Linked DNA regions of Homo sapiens: all the other regions are linked to region 3. The links are contacts of gene promoters, found by promoter capture Hi-C in blood cells and fetal thymus (Javierre and others, 2016). All regions are on one chromosome and are shown on one strand. The core of a region is centred on a gene start or on the middle of the fragment in contact, and the rest is flanking DNA. Distances in the headings are between cores, read along the strand shown.

Region 1 (3,951 bases), core at 138-2,637, 270 kb before region 3:
GTAAAAGAAGGAAGTCTTAAGACAAATAATCTTTGCTTGGTGAGTGTTCTATTAGGTAGAATTTTTGGAAGTAGGGAAGCTTTCTGATTGGCTTTCAAGTGCATTGGGCAGTTTGTGATTGGTCCATCACCTACTGGTACATTATTGGGAGCCCTCAGGCTAAATAAGGTGACATGGGATTTTCTTTTTCAACTGGAGGAATTGCTGGTCCTTAGCTGTGAGGTCTGAGTCTTGCATAAGCAATTCCTCAGTAGAGTTAAGGATGTGACCGTTCCGAAAGTGTTTTGTATGTTTTGTAGGAGAGAGCCTACATATACAGGTTGTTGAGAATTCAGATTCTTACTGTTGGAGGAGGAAGATACAAATATAGAATGGGAGAATTTGAAGAAGTTTCCTGCAGTTTGAGATTTGATTTGGGGCTATCTCGTGATTTCTTAAAAGTAAATGAAGGTTGCCTGGTGTCTGCAAGCAATTTTCTGAAGATGGTAGCCAGGACCCCAGATTTGGGCAGAGAATAAACACCATTTGTGTGGAAGATGAGGTAAGAATGGACAGGCTTAAAAGGAAAGCTAGCGGAGGGTGGAAATGGTAGGCAGAAGGGAGTGGCAATTTGGGACAAATGGTGGCCAGGTGCTGGTGTGCAGAATGCCTTTGGCTATGATCATTCATTTGCACTCCATTTTATTTTGTAAAATATGTTATCAATCTTTAGGTGTAAGACACTATAGCAGTTATAAAGATCAAAATTTATGGCTGGGAGCGGTGGCTCACACCTGTAATCCTAGCACTTTGGGAGGCTAAGAAGGGTGGCTCACCTGAGGTCGGAAGTTCAAGACCAGCCTGGCCAACATGGTGAAACCCCATCTCTACCAAAAATACAAAAATTAGCAGGGCATGGTGGTACACGCCTCTAATCCCAGCTACTTGGGAGGCTGAGGCAGGAGAATCACTTGAACCCAGGAGGCAGAGGCTACAGTGAGCTGAGATCACGTCACTGCACTTCAGCCTGGGCAACAGAGCGAGACTCCATCTTAAAAATAAAAATAAATCAAGATCAAAATTAACATGTGGTCTCTGTCCTCAAATGTAGAAATAATAGTGTTGTGGTTGACAGCGTAGACTCTGGAGCTTGGCCTCCTAAATGAGAACCCTCACCCCACTACCTATTGTACCTACTTGTCTGCTTAGGCTGCCACAGCAACATACCAGACTCAGTGGCTTTAACAGGAGAAATGTATTTCCTTACAGTTCTAGAGGCTGAAAGTCCAAGATCAAGGTGTCAGCAGGGTTGGCTTCTGCTTAGGGCTCTCTGCCTAGCTTGTAGGACAACCACCTTCTTGCTGTGTCCTCACACGGCCTCTTCTGTGTGCATGTAGAAAGAGCGTACACATGCTCTGTTGTCTCTTCCTCTTAAGGATACCCATTCTTATGATCTCATTTGACTTAACTTATCTCCCTAAGGCCAGTTCTCCAGATACAGTCATATTGGAGGTCAGGGCTTTGAATATGAATTTTGGGGCATGATATTCAATCCACAGCACTATGTGACCCAGAGAAGTTACTTAATCTGTCTTTGCCTTAGTTTGCTCACACATAAGATCATAGCATCTGTCTGAGAAGACTGTTTCAGGGACCAGATGGTTGGCTCACACCGAGCACACACTGAGCCCAGCACACAGTAAACACTCAATAAATAACATTTCTTACTTAATTCAATACTTAATTTATACACTTATCAATGACCTTGGTGAGAATAGAATTAGGAGTACACATGTAGGATCTTTTTTAGACATTTTTAAAAATCCACACTTCCATTTGTTTTTGCATAACTGGAGGTGACCCTCACTGGCCCTCTAATATTTGGGTAATAGAAGAAACACAACTGTTCATTGAAGGGATTTTTAACCTGAGCCTAGGGCAGGGCTCATCGTTATTTAAATGTTCGGCAGTTGGCAAAACCTAATGAACTAAAACCATGATTATGCCAGAAATCACACTATCCTGCTTCTTTTTGACACTGGGCTTGGTTAATCACCAACATCATTCTCCCACATGAAAAGCGACCCAGCACTGACTTCTAAGTGCACAACACTTTATTACTGCACTGATTCAGCACAGTTCTTATTGAGAATGGGCACAGGAGTAAAGGAAAAGGAAAACATCATCTATGTAGCCTGGTGTTTGAAATAAAATGGTTAAGTGTCTACAATCAGTTCTGTTTTTGAATATTGGCAATACAGATTCATTTTACAGTATTCAGAAGTGGTGAGAGTGGTTTGTATCCATCTAATTTTATTGGAATCATATCCTCCAGGCTGTTTTCATGTATTGTCTATGTATTGACTATACCTCTGGCTTTGTCCAGGGGGTTCTCTCATGAGGATGACTTTCATCATATTGGTATTCTGCACACAAACTTCTCCCACCATAATTTGTCACAGGATCTAAAAATAGGGCTTTGCCTGTTAAATCTCCATCTTGCAGGGCCTGCCCCTGTGTTTGCTCAGTGCCTATGGCACATTCCTTAGCTATGTTTCAGTCTGTTTTCCTGGATCCTAGGCAGAGTGAGCTTTGCAATCACCACCCGTAACACGCACTCCCTTCCCCTCCAAGCTCTCCTTCTCACATGGTCTTATTGGGAATGAAACGGCCACCCAAAGACAGGTTGTTTGCATGCATGTCCCTGCAAGCTTAACTCTTGGAAGAATAACTAGGCATCCAGACAGAGAAGCTCTCAGTGGAGAAACTGCGGAATGAAATAATTGTTAAAAGCTACGCACACACGCACACTCCTACACACCCTTTGGAGAAATAACTTAGTTCAGACAACACTGTGGAAATCAAGCAGCCTTCCTGTCCTGGGTGAGTTTGCGTGTCAGTTTGACTGCGCTGGGGATACCCAGGTAGCTAATAAGACATTATTTATGGGTGTGTCTGTGAGGGTGTTTCCAGAAGAGACTGGCATTTGAATCTGAAGTGAGTAAAGAAGATCTGCCCTCACCTGTGTGGGTGGGCACCATCCAATCCATTGAGGACCCAGATAGAACAGGGAAAAGGCAGGGAAAAGGGAAATCAGCTCTCTCTTCTAGAGATGGGTGTCCATCCTCTCCCTCAGACATCAGTACTCCACGTTCTCAGACCTTCAGAGCCCAGGACTTAGACCAGTAGCTCTCCCCTACCCACCACCAAATACGTGAATAGTTAATGGTTCTGAAAACACTGAACAAGAAGGACCTTTGCATGAATAATTACAAGCAGTGTAATACAAAAAATTTCCAACAAAAATGGAATTAGGTGATTTTTTAATATAGTACTTGATAAGTACAAAATAATGTACCTCACATATTGTTATAAAATGTGATAATAAAACACTTGTAATTTAGCTGGGTGTGGTGGCGCATGCCTGTAATCCCAACACTTTGGGAGGCTAAGGCAGACAGATCAATTGAGCTTGGAAACTCGTGACCAGCCTGGGCAACATGGCAAAAACCCATCTCTACAAAAAATACAAAAATAGTCAGGTGTGGTGGCACATGCCTGTAATCCCAGCTACTCAGGAGGCTGAAGTGGGAGGATCACCTAAGCCTGGGGAGGTTGAGGCTGCAGTGAGCCAAGATCTTGCCACTGCATTACAGCCTGGGCAACAGAGAGAGACCCTGTCTCAAAAAAACAAAATAATAGGCCAGGTGCGGTGGCTCACACCTGTAATCCCAGCACTTTGGGAGGCTGAGGCAGGCAGATCACCTGAGGTCAGGAATTCGAGACCAGCCTGTCCAACATGGCAAAACCCCATCTCTACTAAAAATACAAAAATTAGCCGGGCGTGCTGGCAAGCGCCTATACTCCAAGCTACTTGGGAGGCTTGGGGGAAGGATCTCTTGAACCTGGGAGGCGGAGGTTGCAGTAAGCCCAGATCACACCACTGCACTCCAGCCTGGGCAACAGAGTAAG
Region 2 (4,014 bases), core at 436-2,935, 310 kb before region 3:
AAAAGGAAGCCTGGAGCCCCAGGAAGGAGGATGGATGAGCTCCAAGGAGCCGGCTCCTGGAAAGAAACAGGACTGGAAGAGGGGGAGGGGACAGGGGCAGCCCAGCCAAAGGAAGCTGCAGGACAGTCCAGCTGGAGATGGAAGCCTCCCAGTAATGGGACCACCCAGGAAAGCTGATGGACAACCACCCACTTCCCTAGCTCCAGCAGGCTGCCCCTGGGCCTATCGGCCATAGCCCTAGAGATGGTTCAGGTCCCAACCCTCTTCCTCCAGCCTCTGCTCCATTTCCACCACTCCTCTTTCCCTCATGCTGTCTTACCTGTCCCCGTCTCCTCTCAATTCTTCTTCTCCTCCTTTGTTTTCTCTCTCTCATTTTGCATTCAATAATGAATATTATTGCTCATTAAAAACGTTTTGAGAATAATGTAAAAAGGAGACTTTTATAGCATTTACCACACTTAAAAGAAAAATCTGGCCTGGACAATGTAGCAAGACTCTGTCTCTACAAAAAATAAAATAATTAACAGGGCACAGCAGCATGCACCTGTAGTCCCAGCTACTTGGGAGGCTGAGACAGGAGGACCACTTTAGCCCAGGAGTTCGAGGCTGCAGTAAGCTGTGATGGTACCACTGCACTCCCACCTTAGCCACATAGCCAGATCCTATCTCAAGAAAACAGAGAGAGAGAGAAGAAAGAAAGAGAAAGGAAGGGAAGGGAAGGGGAAGGGAGAAAAAGAGAAAGAGAGAAAAACCTACCATCTCCTTACATGTGTATTACATCTTTATTTCCTTTTTGATTAGGTAAAAAGTCCAAGTGAAACAACCATAGCTGATAAGTTTATACTAAGCTAAGGATATACCATGTATCTTGAACTTTAACATTTTCAAGTAAAAAGAGATGTCAGAGAACCCAAACTGACTTATGAAAAAAGAAAAAAAAATTGAGGATGTCTTAGCTCATACAACCAAAAACCCAGGGGGAGAGGACTTCCGATGCTGCCGGTTCCTAGGCGCTGAGATGACCCCCAGACCCAGCTCCTTTTCTCCAGGTCTCCTGCTTTCCCTTCCTTCTGCATCACCGTCATCCTTAGACTACTTCTTTCATGGTAGCAGAAGTGTCCACCACATTTCAGGCCCCAACTTCTCACAAGCAGAAGAGTCAGGATCTCTTCCAGAAGCTTCCACAGAAAAGAGAAGCTTCCTTCCTAGAAGCTAAAGCTATATTTCTTTGCATCTCATTGTCCTTAAGGAGGTCATATGCCATTTCCGACCCAATCACTGGGGACAAGCAGATGAGCTCTATGGACTTGCTTAAGCCAAGCAGGGATCACCCTTAAGAGATGGGGTCAATCCCTCCTAGACTACAGGTAGAGAATGGGTCAAGACACAATTCCCTCCAGAGCAATTAAGTAAAAAAAAGAAACAGAAAGTATTCCAATTGGAAAGAAGTAAAACTAGTTCTATTCAAAGATAACATGATCTTATACAGAGAAAACCCCAAAGAATCCACAAAAATACTACGAGAGCCAATAAACAAATTCAGAAAAGTTGTAGAGTACAAGATCAACACAAAAAAAAATGTTGAATTTCTATACATAAGGACCTAGGAAGAAACAAACTCCGCATCTCGTACTATACTCTTACAACAGATAACACTTCCATGACTCCAGAGGGCTGTTGGGGTTTCTCCAACAACAACCAGTGCTGCAGGTCATTCTCCAGTGGACACCCCTGTGTGTTCCCTAATTCAGTTCAGCTCTGACACTGTCTACCTGCAGGCAGTGTCAGATCCCACAGGGTGAGGGCTCAGCCCCACAAGCCTGCCCCACCCCGGCAGATGCCAGTCGCAAGCACAGGTTGTGGCCTGTGCTTCTGACCAACTGGCTGTAAATTGGGAGTTCCCGCAACCCCATCCTGGGATTCAATTAATTTGCGAAAGCAGTTCACAGAACTCAGGGAACCACTCTACTTACACCTACCCATTTATTATAAAGGATATAATTAAGGGTACAGATGAGCAGCCAGAAGGAAGAAGGGTACAGGGCAAAGTGTGGGAGAAGAGGCAAGAAGAGGGGCACGCCCTCCCTGGGTTAACCCCTTCCAGGAACATCCATGTGTTCAGCTTTCCAGAAGCCCCCAGAACTCAGTCCTTTTGCTTTTCTATGGAAGCTTCATTATGTAGGCATGAGTAATGATATCATTGGCCATTGGTGATCAACTGAACCTTCAACCCCCTTCCCTTCCCTGGAGGTTGGGGGTGGGACCGAAAGTCTCAACCTTCTAATCATGCCATGGTCTTTCAGGTGGCCAGCCCCCACCCGGAAGCTATCTAGAGGTCTGCAGCTGCCAGTCATCTCAGTAGCAAACAAAAGACATTCTTAACACTCCAGAGATTCTAGTGGTTTTAGGAGCTATGTATCAGGAAATGGGATAAAGGCCAAATATATATTTCACAATATCACAATACACTAGCAATGGACAATTCAAAAAGGAAATTAAGAAAACAGGCCCATTGACAATAGCATCCAAAAAATGAAATAAAATACCTAAGTTCAAACCAAGGAAGTGAAAACTCATATACTGAAAATCATAAGGTCCTGCTGAAAGAAATGAAAGAATATCTAAATAAATGGAATAACATCCTGTGCTTATAGGTTGGAGGGCTTAATATTATTTTTGCTTTGTTTTGTTTTGTCTTTTTGAGACAGGGTCTTATTCTGTCACCCAGGCTGGAGTGCAGTGGCACGATCTTGGGTGACTGCAGCCTCTGCCTCCCAGGCTCAAGTAATTCTCCCACCTCAGCCCTCCAAGTAGCTGGGACTACAAGCATGCACCACCATGCCCAGCTAACTTTTGTATTTTTAGGAGAGACATGGTTTCACCACGTTGCCCCGGCTGGTTTCAAACTCCTGAGCTCAAGTTATCTGCACACCTCAGCCTCCCAAAGTGCTGAGATTACAGGTGTGAGCCACTGCACTCAGCCCAGGCTTAATATTATTAAGATGGCAGTACTACCCAAAGTGATCTGCAGATTTAATGTTATCCCTGCCAAAATTCCAATGGCCATTTTGCAGAACTAAAAAGCCCAATCCTCAAGTTCATATGGAAATGCAAGGGTCCCCAAATGGCCAAAACAATGCTGAAAAAGAACAAAATTAGAAGATTCACACTTCCTCATTTCAAAACTTACTATAAAACTATAGTAATTAAAGCAGTGACTGAATATAAGGCATAAGGATGGACATCTAAACCAGTGGAATAGAATTTAGAGTCCAGAAATAAACCTGCACACCTTAGAATAATTGACTTTCATGAGGACACTAAGATCATTTAATGGGAAAGAATCCTCTTTTCAACAAATGGTGCTGGGACAACTAGATATATACATGCAAAAGAATTAGTTGAAACTCTACCTCATACATTTGCAAAAATAAACTCAAAATGCATCAAGACCTAAATAGAGGAGCAAAAGCTGTAAGACTCTTTAGAAGAAAACACAGGGGTAAATCTTCATGACTTCGGATTCATCAATGGATTCTTAGCTGTGACACCACAAGTACAGGCAACAAAAGAAAAATATAAATATAACTTCATCAAAATAAAAAACTTGTATGCATTGAAATACATTATCATGAAAGTGAAAGACAACATACAGAATGGGAGAAAATATTTTCAAATTATTTTCAAATATTTTGAATATCCATCTTAACCATGTTATTCCAGCTACAATTCTGTGAAGACATTTCAGAGTCTCTGCATATTTCCTTATTGTAAGCTCCAAACAGTAGATTCAGCATCATGAAAATGTCCAAAGCATTGTTGTTTTTATCCCTGCATTATAGCAGAGATGCATATGCACATTCACACACACACACACACACACACACAACACACACAGACTTCATGCTCCCCAACACCACCTACCATCTCCCTAAAGATACAAAGAACTGATTGGCATCAAGCAGAGATTTCTTTGAGGCTTCCCTGTTTTGTTTTCATTGAGCTTTGAATTTG
Region 3 (3,599 bases), core at 97-2,596:
GGCCCGGCCCGGCCCCGCCGTCCTCGCCCACCCGGCAGCCGGCCCCATTTTCTTAACCCGTGCATTGTCCTTGCGAATCACCCCGGCGGTTCCCACACTGGTGGGGACCGAGAGGAGGGACGAGGGAGGAGCTGGGGGAAGAGGATGAGGAGGAAGAGGAGGAGGAGGAGGAGGAAGACAACCTCCACCCCTTCGCTCGGGCGGCCAGTGAAGGTCTGGCGCTGTCTACGGCCCCCCAGGCCCCGGCTCCCGGGAGGCCGCGGCCCCCGCTCCCACCCTCCGCAACTTTCCCTCCGCTCGCGCCCGCCGCTCCTCCGGGACCCGGCCTGAGGCTCCCTCCCCCGGCGGCCGGCCCTGGGCCCGCGGCGCCTCCTCCTAAAATGGCAGGTCCCTCCCTCCGCCCGGCCGGCCTCGGCTCCGGCCCGGCTGCGGGCCGCCGGGGGAGCCGAGCGCCAGGCCGGGCGGGGCCGCGGCCGGGCCGGACACTCACCGGGACGATGGCGGGGCGCTCGCGCCGCTTCCTCCGGTGAGTCTCAGCCTCGGGCTCCCGCGCCGCGCTCCCGCCGCGGCCTCCGCAGCCAGCGCCGCCCCGGCAGCCTCTCTCCGCCCCCGGCGCTCCGGCTCCTGGCCGCGCCGCAGCCTGCTCAGTCTCTCCTCGGCTCGCGGTTCCAGCGGCGCCCGGGGCCGGGGAGGCGACAGCCCCCTCCCCGGCAAATACCGCAGTCCCCGGGCCCCGATTCCAGGCGGCGGGGCCGCACGGCCGGCCCGGCGCAGAGGGCGGCGTCGGCGAGGCCGGGCGCCGAGCGGCGGCTGCTGCCGGCGGCTTCTTCCCGAGGAGGATTTTGTAAATCTCACAAAATGGCGCGCGCTCCGAACCTGCGCAGCGAGAAGCGCCGGGGCCCGGGCGGCGGCGGCGGCTCCTCCGCCAGGAGAGCCCGAACCGCCCGCCCCCGAGTCCCCGCACAGACAGACAGACACTCGCACACACCCGCACACTCGCGCGCACAATCGCCCTCGCACACGCTCCCTCGCACACACACTCGCACTCACACCGGTCCCGCCTGCTCGCCGGCGGCGGCAGCGGCACCAACAGCAGCAGCAGGAACAGCAGCAGCAGAAGCGGCGGCGGCGGCGCCCGCACCCCCCGCTCGGGGTGTCCGCTCTCTGAGGCCGACCTGGGCCGCGATCAGCAGCAGCGACAGCAGCAGTCTCCCCGGATACCCCCGCCGCGGTTGCCGCCGCCACCCCCGCCTCACTCCAATGGGGCTTTTTATTATTATTCGGGCGGGAAGCGAAAGGGTTTAAAAAAAAACCAACCAACAAAATGGCGACGGACCGACCCGGTCGCTATAGCAACTGTCAATCAAAACGCAAAACCCCGGCTGACGTGCTGACGTCCTCCTCCCGCCCCCCAGCCCCGAGCCGGCGGGCGGGGCCTGTTGCTCAGGTAACGGCAGATTCCGTTCCCTCCTTTCCGTCTCCCCCTCTGTCCCCAGCCAACCACCCAACCCCCTCAGGTCACGTGAAGGATAAATTCGGAGCTCGGGTCCGCTACGAGTGTCAGAGGAGGGCGCGTGATTCGCCCGGGGGAGGGGAGAGGAGGGGGACGGCTAGGCCGAGGGAGGGTAGGGGCTGGGGAAGGGGGGGCGAGGCGGCGGCCAGGCCTGTGCGCGATCGCCCGCCGCCTCCCGGCCGCCCCGCCCCGCCCCGCGCCCGCGCCGACTGCGGCCCGGGGAGCGCGCGCGGCCTCCCGCGCCGCCGCCCCCGCAGCCCTAGCGCCCCGCGCTTCCGCGTCGGCGCCCGCAGCCCCGCCCGCGCCGGGGGGAGGGGCGGGCTGCCCCGGGCGGGGGAGGGGGAGGAGGAGGGGCGCCGCGGCCTTCGGGCGGGGACCCGGGAAGCCCACCCCGCGCGCCCGGGCCTGGAGGGCTCTCACCGCGGTCCGGGCGCCGCGCTCGCCTCTCTCCCCGGGAAGCGCGGCGGCCGCGACCGTCCGCGCGTGGAGCCGGTTCTTCGAAGGGCTGGCGGGCCTCCTAGCCGGAAAATGCCGGCGGAGGCCGTGGTGGGGGCGGGGAGGAGCCACCGCCGCGCCCCAGACATCGCAGGAATTCCGGACGCTGCGCCGGGCCCGGCGGCCCTGAGGCTGGCACCTGGCTCCGGTCGGGCCGCCCAGGTTTTGTGGCGCCCGAGACCAGCGTTGGGAAATTAGGCTGGAGCCATCATGAAAACTTTTTCAGGCAGTGCACGCTCGCCTGTGCCTGCCCATCTGCTTCCAACCTCTCCCCACCTTTCGGGGCGCAGCCTGCCTGCTCCATCGGAATGCCCTTTAGATGAATCCCCTTGTGCTGTTACTGTGTCCTTGTCGTCCAGCTCTCTGGTTTTCTTTTCTATACACCTTCTCGGTTTCCAGAGTCTTAATTCGCCTGCTTGTCCTTAACCATCAAAACTCTTTATTAATATCCTGGCTTTCGCTGATTTTTATTCTCCCTACCCCTTCTCCCTAGCTATGTATTGCTGGGTGAGCTCCCGAGGCTTGAAAACCCAAGTATGCTGTGCTGGCTGCGTTGTAATCGGTAGAGAGCCACCAGCTAAAAATTGTATTTTGTACCAACTCTAATGGCATTTAATAAATGTATACCTAAAAAGAGTGTGTGTGTATATATATACTATTTTACAGCAGAGTCACTAATTGATTTCTAAGCTTGATTTTGCCACCTTGTGATAGTGTTCGTAACCAATTTTTTTCATAAATTTCACAAATGTGACAACAGATAAAATCTTATAAACAATATTAGATGTAAAAAACTCGCAGTAAATGCCGCTGTCTATGCTACATGACTCAAATACACCTGCTTTAAATGATTTCCAGCAAAAATGTCCTTGCTACAGTTACTAGGACATTGATATACTAAGGTAACCATTCAGATTAGCACAGACTTTGAAAGAAATCCGACTAAACCGAAAATAAATTAGTCAAAAAGTAATTACTAAGGTAACCATTCAGATTAGCACAGACTTGGAAGAAACCTGACTAAACCGAAAATAAATTGGTCAAAAAGTGGTCGGGCAAATAGCTTGCTTTCAGGCTGATCTCCATGATATAAAAAAGTTGCCGTAGCTGGCAAAAGTTCTTTCGGATTATTGTTTCAAAATTGCCCTGCTAGTGTGATTAAGGTCCACGGTCAACTTAATTGTTTTGAAGAAAGAGGAAGTGGCCCAGAGCGCCCCTTATTCAGAGGAGAGGTCCCTACCTGGTTCCTCCCAAGCTCAAGCTTCCACCTATACAACCAACTTCTTCCTCTCTGCTTGTGGGTCTCCTTCCTGCCCCCACCCCATCCCACCCCATTCACCAAGCTTTCGCTTCTATCAGAGCACATCAGCATTTGCAACCTTTAATACTAAATTAAATTTGACTCAAATTTTTATTCCTGGTAATGGAAGAAACTTGTATAGTTAATCTTCCAGGTAACCTGAACAGAATATGATAATGTCTCAAGATATGTGTCCTTGTCTTCAGTTCAAATCAACCTAGAAGATATCGGAGTGGGGCAGAATCTTGAGATTATAAACATGCGGGTATAGAAGGCATTGCTGGTCTTCGT

What was found. The method cuts DNA at HindIII sites, captures the fragments that hold promoters and counts their contacts. A CHiCAGO score of 5 or more calls a contact.
Region 1: a fragment that was not itself captured here is called in contact with the fragment with the promoter of DYRK1A in region 3 in 1 of 17 cell types (endothelial precursors); the score reaches 5.1 in endothelial precursors.
Region 2: a contact is called between a fragment that was not itself captured here and the fragment with the promoter of DYRK1A in region 3, in 1 of 17 cell types (endothelial precursors). The highest score is 6.0, in endothelial precursors.

Annotation. Positions count from the first base shown.
Region 1 is chr21:37,635,247-37,639,197 of GRCh38, reverse strand. The region is part of intron 3 of KCNJ6 (potassium inwardly rectifying channel subfamily J member 6); the gene reads left to right. All of the region lies in intron 1 of KCNJ6-AS1 (KCNJ6 antisense RNA 1), which reads right to left. Among named protein-coding and RNA genes, the nearest start is that of KCNJ6-AS1, 120 kb to the right of the region's middle. The HindIII fragment of the contact is 2,611 bases long and covers 82-2,692 here.
Region 2 is chr21:37,669,452-37,673,465 of GRCh38, reverse strand. The region is part of intron 3 of KCNJ6 (potassium inwardly rectifying channel subfamily J member 6); the gene reads left to right. All of the region lies in intron 1 of KCNJ6-AS1 (KCNJ6 antisense RNA 1), which reads right to left. Among named protein-coding and RNA genes, the nearest start is that of KCNJ6-AS1, 150 kb to the right of the region's middle. The HindIII fragment of the contact is 972 bases long and covers 1,200-2,171 here.
Region 3 is chr21:37,364,520-37,368,118 of GRCh38, reverse strand. DYRK1A (dual specificity tyrosine phosphorylation regulated kinase 1A) reads right to left here and starts at 1,346. Exons shown (of 12, transcript NM_001347721.2): 1 at 491-1,346. RefSeq lists silencers at 1-123, 234-373, 614-693, 884-1,033, 1,614-1,923 and 1 more and enhancers at 36-960, 2,274-2,353, 1,885-2,810. The HindIII fragment of the contact is 3,979 bases long and covers 1-2,700 here.